Regions from separate parts of the Homo sapiens genome. Here all the other regions are linked to region 1. Evidence: promoter capture Hi-C in 16 types of primary human blood cells and fetal thymus (Javierre and others, 2016). All regions are on one chromosome and are shown on one strand. The core of a region is centred on a gene start or on the middle of the fragment in contact, and the rest is flanking DNA. Distances in the headings are between cores, read along the strand shown.

Region 1 (3,329 bases), core at 813-3,312:
GAATGACAGCTGGCCTTAGTTGCTGTGTTCCCGGGGCACTGCTCAGGGTGGGTGCACCACAAAGATCTGGGGAGGGTGGGGCATCCGATCATTCCCAGCTCCCGGGGAGAGATGAGGGTGTGGCGGAGGTCACCTGGCTGAACAGTGACAGAGCTGGGCCCAAACCTGGGCACCACGTCATTGGCACCACTGCCCGTGGGCACATGTGCCCACCTGCCGGCTGCAGGCAGGCCTGACACAACTGGGCTCTTCCCTGGCACTGCCTGGCACAGGCACTGGGGACCCTCCGCGGACCCGGCAGCTCAGCACTCCCCTGGGCCAGCCTTATCTTGCCCTGCAGAGCCCAGGCTGGAGTGAGGCGCAATGGACGGAGGCGAGGAGGGTGCAGCCGAGCCCTATCAGATACGGCCGGAAATATGACCCCGCTGGGACCTGAGCCCTGAGCCGAGCCATCAGCTCACTAATAAATTACCCAGAGCGAATGTCCACAGGGTCAGCCCGCATCGCCTTTCCAGGGAGCACAGAGAGGGGGCGGCACCCAAGGTCTGTGGGCTGACCGTTCCCTCCCCTCTGTCAATGAGAAGGGTCAGGAAGGAGTTGTCCCGGAGCCCCCCGACCTCGGGCAGTGCAGCCTGACCTCTGAAATCTGGGAGGAGCAGCTCCAGCCCTGGGAAGCCAAGGATAAGCGCCCAGATTGGGCACAGGCGGGAGAGGGTCTTGTCTGGCTACAGGACCTCACTCTTCCCAGGAAGCCAGACTGCCAGCAGGACCACCCAGCCTTCCTCAGTGCTCTCCCTGGAACAAGCGTCAGCGAGCCAAGGCCCTCCTGCCAATCTGGCCCACCCCGTTTGTGTAGACACAGAGCGCACTGTGTGCCATATGGCCCTGTAAGAGAAAAGTTTGCTCCCCCATGCCCTGTACTGAAGACGGCAGTGAGGGGAGGGCCGGTCTGCTGAACCCCATCCCAGTGGCTGCGTTGCTCATGCTCTGACGGTGGGTTCCAGGACTCTGTGTCCATGCAGCCCCACGGCTGGCCCTGAGCAGTCACCCTCTGTGCACACTGTCCCCCAGCCTGGCACACCCTGGGCTCCCAGGGGTCCTGTAGCTTTACCCAAGGGAGATGCACCCCCATTCCTAATGGAGAAACACGGGTCTCTCCACACCTCCTCCAGCAGTCCCCTGAAACAGGTCAAAGCCCCACAAACCAGGCAGGGGTCTGCCCACATGTGGTGGTGCCCTGCGCCAGTGATGCCCTCACCAGCCTCTTTCAGACCTGCCTTTACATGCACCAGCAGACGGGGGGGCTGGCGAGGACGGGCCACCAAGCCTGAGCCAGGCTACCACCTCCGGGCTGTGTGACTCTGGACAGGGTGCCTCAACTCTCTGAGCTGCACTTTCACCTACAAATGAGGGGCAGACTCAGCAGCGCCAGGCAGGGCAGTTGGACGCCCACCCAGGACAGACCCTGAGAAAGGCTGATCCCTCACCCCTGCCATCGCTCACTGACCCATACATTGCCCCTTCCTGCCAGGGCAATATCGAGGGTCGGCCAGTGTGCCCCAAAACGGCAGCTTGGGACCCATTCTTTGCCTCTCCCTCTGGCAACCCCAGGTCAGGACTCACAGGGGCACAGGGGCCTGGGGCAGGGCGGGCACTCTCGCCACCACGGAGGCCCCATGCTGGGTCAGGGTCTTATTGGAGGCTGGACTCTGTGATCACCTCACCTCCCGCAGCCCCACAGTGCCCTCCCTCTCCCACTCTGCCCCGAATTCCAATCCATAGGTTTTTCCAAGAGCTGCACAGCTCTGGAATTGACCTGGGAGGGGGCACATTTGGGCCGGGAGGGGTAGGAACAGCAGCAAACTCTGGTCTTATCTGAAATCATGGTCTGTTGTCCACCGGGGGCCTGGGAAACAGCCACCCCCTTCTGCTCCGGGGCCAGCGGCCTGTCCTCGGGTTCACTGCTATTTCTGCCAAAGGGGAGAGGTAATTATAGCCTGGCCGCTGCCAGCTGGCCCAGCTTTGCGATCCAGCAGAGAGGGCTGGAGACGGGACGAAGGCCACAACAGACCCGGCCCTGCCAGCGGGCGGTGGCGCCTCCAGATCAGAGCCCTCGGGAAGGAGGCCTGGGCGGGCCTGGCCCGTTCACCTGTGTGCCCTGCAGTTCTGCCCGAGGCTCAACTCTCAAGGGCCTGGGAGGGGTGCTGCCGGCCAAGAGGGTCCAGGACCTCACTGGACTGTGCCCCACAGGGAGATCCCGAAGAGCCTGTTTCTGTCCCTCGGGGAGCCAGGAGGGAACCAGGTGAGTTCCAGCCCCAGGGAGAGGGGGCTCACTTCCTGCTTGGGTATGAAGATGCCAGAGCGGAGAGATTGCCAAAGGCAGGTGCAGGTGGGGAACCTGCCCCAGCTGGGCAGCAGGTGTGGGCAGAGACTGGGCAGAGCGGAGAGATTGCCAAAGGCAGGTGCAGGTGGGGAACCTGCCCCAGCTGGGCAGCAGGTGTGGGCAGAGACTGGGCAGAGCACACACTGATGATCCTGAGTGACCTGAACAAGCTCCAGAGTGGCCACCCTTCCCCCTTCTCCTGGGACTGATGGTTTCCCTAAAACGGAGACAGTCCCAGGCCGGCCCTGTGTCCACACTGAGGCCAGGCCGCCTCTGGGGGAAGCAGGGAACACGGCCACTTCAAACTTAGCAGCGGGGGTGCTCCTGGCCACACAGGAGCTTCCAAAGGGCACCTGATGTTGCGCGAAACAGCCTGGGCAGTGGGAGAAGGGGCTGCACTCTCAGGGGAATGCAGGCAGCCGTGCCAGGCATGAACCCAGCCAGCCTTCCCTGAAGGGCCTTGGTGGGGGGCATCCTCCGAGGGCAAGTCTACGCAGGCCCAGCCTAGCAGGAATGGATTCGTTACTCCAGTAACTGAAGCCTAGTTCTCAGTGTTTGGGAATCCCTGAGAACTGGCTCTTTTCTGAGCCGTCAGTCAGAAGGAATCCCTGTCCTGCCCTGTGTGGCCATGGGACCCCCACCCAGCACTGGACGCCACGCCATTTCTTGGGCACTACTGAGCTTTGCAGTGCCCTGGACAGTTGGCAAACAGCCCCCATTCCACATATGGGAGGAAGGGCCTGGGGGGGTCCCCCGCCCTGTCTGTCTGGAGCTCTCGAGGCCTAGGGTGGCCCCTGCACCCAGCAGATGAGCAGCCATCACCCGGTACTGCTGCTACCTCGAGCCCTAACTGCACCTCGGGATGTGAGGGCCCATCTAGGCATGGAGAGGGGCCTCAGGGGGCCACCAGGCAGCTCCTGCTCCTGTTCCTACCTGGTAGGGCCTG
Region 2 (3,385 bases), core at 81-2,580, 560 kb before region 1:
TTATGGTTAAAGATAGTAAACTATGTTTTTAGAAACTAAAACAGTGTGCAGCAGCTTTGAGCTTGTGAATGTTGAAACTATTTTGTTAGCTCTAGTAATCTGCTCTGATTTTGTGTTATATTTTACAGTTGAAACACATTCCTCCCTATGGATTTCTTTACTATAAACAACTACAGTCTCTCTTTAGACAGTGTGGTCAAGTCAAATCCATTGTATTTGATGGTGCAAAGTAAGTATATTTTTGTAATCAACTGCAATTATGAAGGAGGCATAATGATTCAAATGTTTCCAGACGCTGATTGTTAAAACGGAGTGCCCATGGAAATGGGTCCTCCTATGGGCTGCTGCAATTGGCTTTCAGAATGTAGCTTTGGTTTATCTTATGGTCAGAAGCAATTTGTCTTCTCTTTCTGCTAAGTGACCTCCTAAAGGAACTAAGCTGCTGGTTAGTGGTCAAGCATGGTCACTCCAAGAAGGCTCAGTAACTCAGTGTGATGCTAAGGCGGATTCTCTTAAAGTGATCTTCACTTTCACGCACTGGTCTGAGATTTTCTCAGTGAGTCATTAGTAAGAGTTATTTTGTGGGCCATGAAGGTGATCCAAAATAGAGTGTATCTGCTTATAGTTGTCTAAAGCAGATATGTTTTGAATATTTTTGGAAGGCAAACATTGTAAAAACTCAATTTGGCTCTACTTACTGCATGTAAGGAACAAATGTGTGTTTTGGAGCATCACTGAGTTTTTATTTCTAACAGGAAATGTTTATGTACCAAAAAGCCTAAAGTAGGATTTTTAATTTTTAAAGTTAGAAATTTTTTCCAGTGTTCTGTGAATGTTGTATAAATTTTTATTTAACTTTACAAAGCTTTGTAAATAAGAACAAACACTTTTTCTTTAATGTCCAGTTCACTCAAGTTGAACATTAAGTCCATTTTCAATTTGGGGTAATTCCCTCCGGCATTTTAAGTTCCATTTCTATGATTAATATATTGATTTTCTTTGTAGGCCTGTAAATGCTTCATGAGGCAAACACACAACTCCCTAATAAGCAAAACCTTCCTAAGTGCTTTGAACAACTCTTAGAGAATTAATTAAACTTGTAGTGTCTGAACTTTTCTTAAATATTCTGATGTAAATTATAGTAAGATTCTTAGTCACATATATAAAGTAACTTACTTAAAGCTGGAATCACACAGCTAAACTCATTCCTGAATAGTGTGCGTCTGCTTACCTGGGTGAGCTTCCAGTTCTGCATGGATGCTCCTTTGACTGATTTGAGTGGTCAGAAGGCTTGGCTCCCAGAAGATTGCAGCATCTTTGTTCCCTCTTCTTTACAACTGGATTGGGTTCTGTGTTTGTTGCCTGTTCTTCTTGCCTGGGACTTTTTTTTGTTTTATTATTTTTATTTATTTATTTTTGAGACAGAGTCTTGCTCTGTCATCAGGCTGGAGTGCAGTGGCACAATCTCGGCTCACTGCAACCTCCGCCTCCCATTGCCTGGGACCTTTTTTATAGGTGTTTATATCTTTTGCATTCCTCATATTTCCAGCTCTCAAGTCATAATACAAATGTCATACCAATTTTTTGGGGGAAGTAACAGTATTCTTTCTGTACCAGTACCAGTTCTTGGGATTCAAGTATTTAAAGGCAAAGGAAGTTACAGTGATTGAAAGAATAAGAAGTGTATTTCTTTTGGCATAGAGCAGGGGTGACTTCATGTAGACTCTGTGAGGTGCCAAGGGCGCATGGGCAGATGGGCACAGGTGGTACCTGGGCATATCATGTTCTCCCATAAGAAGCTTTCAACTTCGTGGTAGGAGTGGAGAGTCAAATTAGTTTCACAGACATTTGCCTGCTGTGAGATGTCATGGGAAAGGCCTAGAAGGTCAGAAGAAGACATTCTATCTGAGGCCCAATATTAGAGCAGTAACATTAATTTGAGACTTCCTCGGGTAGACGTCGGAGGGTTGTGAGGCCTCGGGCTGGTGCAGTGGCCAGTGCAGAGGTGGTGCAGTAGGGTCAGGTGGTTTTCCAGCAGGAGGCAGTCATTAGCTGATCTTGACAGGGGAAAGCTGAGACTGTGCACACATAGCTGGTAGCCGTTTGGGCAGAGCTGCTCCGTGTCAGATGGAGTCTGTTTTGTGGAGGTCAGGTGCTGACTTTGAGACAGTCTTCTGGCAGACTGATGAGTGTGAACATGACTAGGTGGGCACTTGGAGACCTTTGAGTGGTCTGTCCGGAACTGTGTTTTATGGAACTTACTCAGGGATAAGCGGAAGGTCAAGGTAAGAGGAGTAGAAGCCGGCCTGGAGTCTTTGCAGTAGTCCAAAGCAGAGGTACTGAGATGTGCAGCCAGTATGGTGCTGTTGGACATGAAAAGGAGCCAACAGACGGGAAGGAGGATGTCTTGGATTTGCCTGGTGATTGCATGTGGGGGGCAAAGAAGTGAGAGGAGCCCAAGAGCATCCGGCTTTCCAGCCTGGATGCTGGGGAGGATGCAGCTTCGAGGAGAAGACGCTGAGGTCTGGAGTTTAAAATTACTTCTACGGAGTCTTAGGAGAGACTCTAAAGAAGGGAGATAAAGCAGAAGGGCATGAATCAGGCAGTGGGTGGAAGGAAAATGCGTGCATTTATGAGTGAAGAGGATGGGGCGTGAAGGAGAGCGGAGGAGGCGGAGCGGGTCAGGGTTGATTCATGTACCTGCTCCACACACCTCCCCTGCTGGGCGTCTTTCCAAACTGCTCAAGGTGTACATTTCCAGGAGAGAGCTCATTACAGGACGATTTTTATAGTAGAGGAAGGGGCCCAGGTCTGTTTTTGTGGCTCTGTGATGATGTGGGGACCCAGGGGCATTAGAACTTGCATGCATAGCAAGGTAAACTTGATGCTGTCTTCCTTCTGCCTGGCACATCCAGCAGGCACCTTTTGCTCCATGCCTGCTCCTCATGCCCCAGAGTGGGGCTGGAATGGGACACCGAAATATGGGCTGGGGCAAGAGAGGGCATTTATCAATATTACTTGGTGTTTTATTCTGTTCTCTCGGTGCTATAAAGAAATACCTGAAACTGGGTAATTTATAAAGAAAAGAGGTTTAATTGGCTCATGGTTCTGCAGGCTGTATAGGCTGCTGCTTCTGGGGAGGCCTCAGGAAACTTACAATCATGGTGAAAGGCAAAGGGAAGCTGGCATTTCTTACATGGCTGGAGCGAAAGGAAGAGAGCAAAGGGGAGGTGCTTGTAAACAACCAGATCTCGTGAGAACTCACAAGAACAGCAAGGGGGAAATCGCGCTCACAATCCGGTCACCTCCCACCAGGCCCCTCCTCCAATATTGGAGATTACAATTCGACATGAGATTTGGGCAGGGACACAGATCTAAACCATAT
Region 3 (3,168 bases), core at 132-2,631, 590 kb before region 1:
GAATATTTATCAGATGACTTCTGTGTGCATCATATTGTATTAAGGGGAAAACATCACCCAAGTAGAGCCATGTTGATACTGGCTTAAGAACACCTAACATGGGCCGGGCACAGTGCTCACGCCTGGAATCCCAGCACTTTGGGAGGCCGAGGCTTAAGAACACCTAACACGGACGGGCGTGGGGGCTCATGCCTGGAATCCCAGCACTTTGGGAGGCTGAGGTGGGTGGATCACGAGGTCAGGAGATCGAGACCATCCTGGCTAACATGGTGAAACCTCATCTTTACTGAAAATACAAAAAAAATTAGCCGGGCATGGTGGCGGGCACCTGTGGTCCCAGCTATTCGGAAGGCTGAGGCAGGAGAATGGCATGAACCTGGGAGGCGGAGCTTGCAGTGAGCCGAGATCACGCCACTGCACTCCAGCCTGGGAGAAAGAGCGAGACTCCATCTCAAAAAAAAAAAAAAAAAAAAAGAATACCTAACATGAGATAAATACTCTATTTTATTTATTTTTTAAGAAAGGGTCTTGCTGTGTTCCCCAGGCTGGAGTACAGTGGTGTGACCCCGATCACTGCAGCCTCTACCTTCTGGGCTGAAGTGATATTTCCACCTCAGCCTCCCAAGTAGCTGGGACTGCAGGCATGCACCCCCATGCCTGGCCAAATTTTTTTTTTTTTGGTATCTTTTTGTGGAGACGGTTTAACTAGCTTGCACAGGCTAGTCTCGAACTGCTAGGCTCAAGTGATCTCCATGAAGTGATCCACCTGCCTCAGCCTCCCAAAGTGTTGGGATTGCAGGTGTGAGCCACTGCTCCTGGCTGGTAAATACTTTTTACCTGCTAAACATTGCCTGAAGAAAATATTTATAAGTGATATTTTACATTTAGGGTTACTGTCCTTTTAATATGTTCATGTGAATTCAAGTTTGATAGATGTTTATGTGTCAATTGATCTTTTGTGAACAGTTCTATAGTAGTTTTCCAGGACTGCTGTAACAAAGTGCCACAAGCTAAATGCCTTAAAAGAACAGTCATTTATTCTCTCCCTGTTTTGGAGGCTAGATGTTCAAAATCGAGTTGTCAGCAGGGCCATGCTCTTTCTGAGCCTCTTCCTCTTTCCAGCTCCTGGTAGTGGCCGTCAGTCCCTAGTGCTCCTTGACCTGTGGCTACATCACTCCTGTCTCTGTTGTCACATGGCATTCTCTGTTTGTGCCTCTTCCCTTCTTGTATGGATACCAGTCATTTTGGATTAAGGGCTCACCCCATTCCAGTATAACTTCATCTTAACTAATTACATCTGCAATGACTCTATTTCCAAATAACACCACCTTCCGCATTCTGGGGTTAGGACTTCAATACGTCTTTTTAGGGGACACAGTTCAACCCATAACAGACTCAGATTTGAGAATCAGGATGAGGCAAAAGCACCTGCTAGCTTAGCTTTCAGCAAACAGGACGGAGGCCTGATGGAAATGGTTTAGCACATCCTCATGACCAAAACTTTACAAATGTTATTTTTTGATTGTAAAGATTTTGCATGCTCATTATAGAAAATTTAGAAAATCTGGGGGTAAAAAAGGAATACAAAAATTACTCATATAGCTAACACCCACAGGGAGTCACTGCTGTGTAAAGGAAAACTGGAATAATAGGGTTTTTCCCTATATTTTTGAGTTACTACTAATCAATGTCACTGTGTACTTTTACTTGTGTTTCTGGCATATTTAGGCAAAGAGGATAAAGAAGTCAAATAAATTGGTAGGGCCTTCTTTGAAAGATATGCCATTTTAATTTAAAGGTTGGTTTCTAGCAGTAAATACAAACATGTTTATTTCCCTCCTCCACTTTTTTCTTCCCTAGGTCTGGGTGAAATAAATTATATGCATGAACTTCTCACAAGCCTGGTTCATAAAAGGTATGTTGAAAATGATACAGCTGTATTCTTCTAAGCCATTGCATTGTTTCTGCCTTAAATTATCTCAGTATTTATTTTTGTATCTCATGTATATCTATTCTTTATGGAGATTTTATTTTAGTAATTTCTTAGGTTGCAGGTCTATCCACTCCATTCAAGTGTGGCTTTAGAAGAACAGAATAATGTCTTTTTAAGTCCAGTCCCTGGGTACAGAAAGGTAGGAAAACTGGGAAGACAAGTTCTAAGCACTTTAGGTAAATTTTCCTTAGAGACTCTACTCATGAAAAATATTTTCTGGGTGTCGTGGCTCATGCGTGTGTTTCCAGCACTGTGAGAGGCTGAGGTGGGTGAATCATTTGAGCTCAGGAATTTGAGACCAGCCTCATGGCGAAACCCCATCTCTACAAAAAATATAAAAATTACCTGAGTGCAGTGGCATGCACCTGTAGTCCCAGCTACTTGGGAGGCTGAGGTGGGAGACTTGTGCCTGGGAGGTGGAGGCTGCAGTGACCCGAGATCACACTGGTGCACTCCAGCCTGGGTGACAGAACAAGACTGTCTCAAAACAAAAAAAAAAAAGAAAAAAAAATCACATTTCAGCAGTGTGTTCTGTAGTTAGTGGTTACTCACTTAAACAAATATTTACCTAATGAGCCAGGTATGTTGTTTAGTTTTGTGTTTTATTTTGTAAATCAGTTTGCTAAAAAGCTAAGATTTTTTGTTTTCTCAATTCAGGAATTCTGGTGCCTTTTAATTCTTCTTTAGCATTTCTTTAACTTTGGGACTGTTCTCGTGTCCTTGAAACCACTCTGGTGACTCTGGTTAGAAGCCATATTCTAGGTCCTGCTTCAGGAGGATTTCTTTATCTCAGATTATGTGTGAATGATGGAGTTGTTTTAACAAGACCCTTCTAGAGCTGCTTGAGGTGATCAGGGGGCCTGAGTTGACAACGTCGCCCCCCTTGATTGCTTTGGAATCTCTAGGAGCAGCCTTGGGTGGTATTCTAGGGCAAGTACAGGCAACAACCCTTCTTCTAGAAACCTGGTTGTGCCCCTGGGCAATTCCAGGACCCCTCTCCACCCCACCAAAGTTACCACACCAGAAGTCAGGAATAGCTCCCTTTGCCCGTGTCTTGTCTGCCTGTGTTAAAGCCTTTGCTGTGTTGTATGTGGCTGGTTTCCATTCATCAGGGGCTTCTTGATCAATTGTGATGTGTATAAAATAGAAAAATGGCTAATTTTGAAACCTGAGTT
Region 4 (3,159 bases), core at 335-2,834, 540 kb before region 1:
AGTCTTGATCTCCTGACCTCGTGATCCACCCGCCTTGGCCTCCCAAAGTACTGGGATTACAGGCGTGAGCCACCGCGCCCAGCTTACGTGCTGTTCTTTTAGGCCATTTTCTGACTGCTTTGGCTGGTGCGAGGTTACGCGGTGGAGCATTCTCACTTTTCCTTTTATACAAGGATGTGGGAAGTATTAATAATTGACTCCTGGATCTTTCATTCATTCCACCCTGCTTGGCTACAGAGTAGAATACATCCAAGCTCTTGGCCCTGGGAAAAATCCAATAGCCTGATTAGGGGAAAGAGATGCAAAGAGTAACCAAATAGGAGTTATCCCCAAGTGGGGTAAAAGCTTACGCATCATAGCGTAGTGTCTCTCTGTAGGGTACTGTGGAAACAGAGAACAGGGAGTGTGCGTTACTATTGGGGTGGGCCTGTGGGGACTGGACAGACTCAGCAGAGGAGGGGATACCTGCAGATGAGTAGGAGCGGGCCGGGAGGGAACGCTGCCCTGAGCAGCGTGAGTTAATGCCCGATGTTGATTTAGCATGACTTGAACAGGATCTACGATGCTGCTGAGAGAAACCTCTCTGATGCCTCATATCCCTGGCCTCCCGGCTCTCCTCAGCATGTTATTCGCACCGGTGATAGAGTTAAGGTACGGGCATCCCTCTTGTCTATAGGCTTTGTAAAATAAGAACCTGGGCGGGAAAAAACGGGTGCCTCTCCTTGCTCCTTTTGGAAAGAAAGCCTTTATGGAAGCTAGCCATGGCACGTCTCGCTGCTTGGGGTGAAGCCTGTATTGTTATTGATTTATTTATGCTTGGGCTGATTTTGAAAGAAGCTCAGAAAGCTTGTAAAGGTACACACTGTGTCACATAGGAGCTTGAGGCAAAAAAGGGGTAAAATAAATTAAAAATGGAGCTAGGAATGAGGCTCAAAATAAATGTCATGGTGATGGACATCCCATTGTTAATGGGTGGTGAATGTGATTCCAAGTTTTCTGGTGACCAGTTGTCGACAAGAACCCGTCAGTCCCCCTTCTTGTGGTAACCATGACATCAGAAGGCAGATTGCCCAGCAGATTGTAGCTCTTGTTAATGCCACGATTAAGCCAGGATTTCTCCCAGAGACTTTGATAGAGAGGAGTGTGTGATGCCATGAGCAGAGCTCTTAAAGGCACCCTCACAGTGGGGGCTGCTGCCGTGTAAGGTTTTGTTTGCAGACTAGGGATTGACAGAGCATTCTCTGTGGGGAAAGCACTAACATAGGTTTTAGTGGAGCAGTGGGTGGGGGTGGCTAGAAAAGGAGTAATATTTGGGCTTTAGGAACTCACATTCTGCTGGGCAGGATGGAAATGGCCATGACGAGATTGCAGTAGAGGCCTGGTAGCACTTCAAGAGTCGGGGGCATGGAAAGTTACCCTTTTCTTCTTTTCTAGTCAGCTGGTGAGCATGGAGGGGTGGTCCATAGACCTAGAGGGCTAAGTTCAGTCAAGGCAGGTGGAAGGGCCCCACCGTTTACTCAGTCCTTTTTGCCATTACACTTGTTCAGAATCTGACAGTGCAATCTCAAAATGTGTAGTGCTTTTTTTTTTAGTTGTAAGAATATTTTTTTCATTAAAATATGTGCTACTTAGAAAAAGCTGAATGGGAAAAATTAACACATTTTTAAATTTATAGATTTAAATTTAAATAGTATACTTATTTTAAATTTGTATATACATATTTTTATTTAAGATTCTTGTTATACTGTATTCTTTTCCCACAAATACCAGGTTTTTCATATTATGATATCTTTGTAAATATCCATTTTGATAATTGTATCATATATCACTGAATGGGCATATGATGGCTTACAAAAATACCGCCCTGTTTTAATTATACATGCACTTGTTTCTGAGCGGCTCTTGTCTGAAAGGATTGAATATGCCTTTAATTGTTGAAATGTGACCTAATTTTGCAATGATGATGCAGTAAATCCCTCTGTAAGTTCAGGCGTCTTGGAGCCTCGGTGGGGAGACAGATGTGCAGGAACCACACGTGGCAGTGGGATGATCTCATGAGCAAATAGCACGCTGTGCACCTGCAGGCCTGAGGCTTGGCTAGTGCAGAAGCAGGTCCCTTCCTCTCATGGCACTTTGGACGCCCTGCTTGCCTTTTTAACTAGACAAAGCTCCTGCTTCACCTCTTTTAAACACCAGCTTTTGAGGATTTGAATGATATAGTGTGTTATTTTCACAACTCCAGAGTGCAAGCGTTTAGGTTGTAGACATTCAAGAAATACTGACATACTTGGTATTTAAAACACCATCTTTCTAGAAAAAGCACAAGCTTAATAGGAAAAGGTTATATATAACAATACACAGTGCTTTGCTGATTATATTCATTTTGTTGAATTAACTGAAATGTGCCAGATTTGGGACGGTTTATGTGACAGTGTGCGTAAGACTAGTTGTCTTTGAATCCACAGGCTTAACTAGGTGATTATCGGAAAGGTAGCAGGGGGGCCTGGTTGATTTTCCTCCAAACTCTGCCTGCCTCTGAGTAGTTGTATAAGCTTGGTTTTGTTGTTGTTTTTTATTTTGTTGTTGTTTTTTGAGACAGGGTCTCACTCTGTCTCTAAGGTTGGAGTTTTTTTTTTTTAATTTGTTGAGTGAGTAACAACTGTTTTTGAGAAACTTTGAAAGATGACAGCTGTTTGATTTGGGATGAGCATTCTCCTTTCCTTTCACTTTAAATATGCAGTCTTCTGCAGCGAGCAGGAGGGGGGTCTTCAGTACAGAACTGGCCCAGGGGTCCCAGCACTGTGTCTTAGGTGTGTTCCGGAGGGGAGCTGTCCTCCAAAGCCCACAGCTCCTGCGAGCCGCTGCCCCGCCATGCGCCCATGCCCGTTTGCTTCCTTTTGTGAGCCACCTCTCTAATGCGCACCCGCATGGGACTCGTCTCCTGTTCGGGTGGCGTCTGGCTGCTGCACTAGAGGCTGTCCTGGCCCCCCTTGTTAAACGCGAAGCTTGCAGTCTCTGGGTAAAGTCTGTTCTCCCTCCACATGTGTCACTGTCCTGTCACAACTGATTCAACTTTACGACTAAGTGATAATTTTTTACCACCTCTAACATACTCTTTGTACAATAGTGGCAGGAAAGGAAGATGAGCAGAAAACTTAA

The links. Contacts are between HindIII fragments. The CHiCAGO score rates a contact against its expected background, and 5 or more counts as called.
Region 2: a contact is called between a fragment that was not itself captured here and the fragment with the promoter of C14orf180 in region 1, in 5 of 17 cell types (activated CD4 T cells, endothelial precursors, naive CD8 T cells and 2 more). The highest score is 7.1, in activated CD4 T cells.
Region 3: a fragment that was not itself captured here is called in contact with the fragment with the promoter of C14orf180 in region 1 in 1 of 17 cell types (endothelial precursors); the score reaches 5.6 in endothelial precursors.
Region 4: a fragment that was not itself captured here is called in contact with the fragment with the promoter of C14orf180 in region 1 in 5 of 17 cell types (endothelial precursors, naive CD4 T cells, naive CD8 T cells and 2 more); the score reaches 6.9 in endothelial precursors.

Annotation. Positions count from the first base shown.
Region 1 is chr14:104,577,702-104,581,030 of GRCh38, forward strand. It overlaps C14orf180 (chromosome 14 open reading frame 180), which reads left to right and starts at 2,063. Exons shown (of 5, transcript NM_001008404.3): 1 at 2,063-2,302. The HindIII fragment of the contact is 16,067 bases long and covers 1-3,329 here.
Region 2 is chr14:104,017,964-104,021,348 of GRCh38, forward strand. It overlaps TDRD9 (tudor domain containing 9), which reads left to right. Exons shown (of 36, transcript NM_153046.3): 23 at 129-229. Among named protein-coding and RNA genes, the nearest start is that of ASPG, 66 kb to the right of the region's middle. RefSeq lists an enhancer at 1-133. The HindIII fragment of the contact is 934 bases long and covers 864-1,797 here.
Region 3 is chr14:103,992,472-103,995,639 of GRCh38, forward strand. It overlaps TDRD9 (tudor domain containing 9), which reads left to right. Exons shown (of 36, transcript NM_153046.3): 10 at 1,861-1,915; 11 at 2,048-2,132. Among named protein-coding and RNA genes, the nearest start is that of RD3L, 52 kb to the left of the region's middle. The HindIII fragment of the contact is 3,607 bases long and covers 1-3,168 here.
Region 4 is chr14:104,034,406-104,037,564 of GRCh38, forward strand. It overlaps TDRD9 (tudor domain containing 9), which reads left to right. Exons shown (of 36, transcript NM_153046.3): 32 at 555-651. Among named protein-coding and RNA genes, the nearest start is that of ASPG, 50 kb to the right of the region's middle. The HindIII fragment of the contact is 1,480 bases long and covers 845-2,324 here.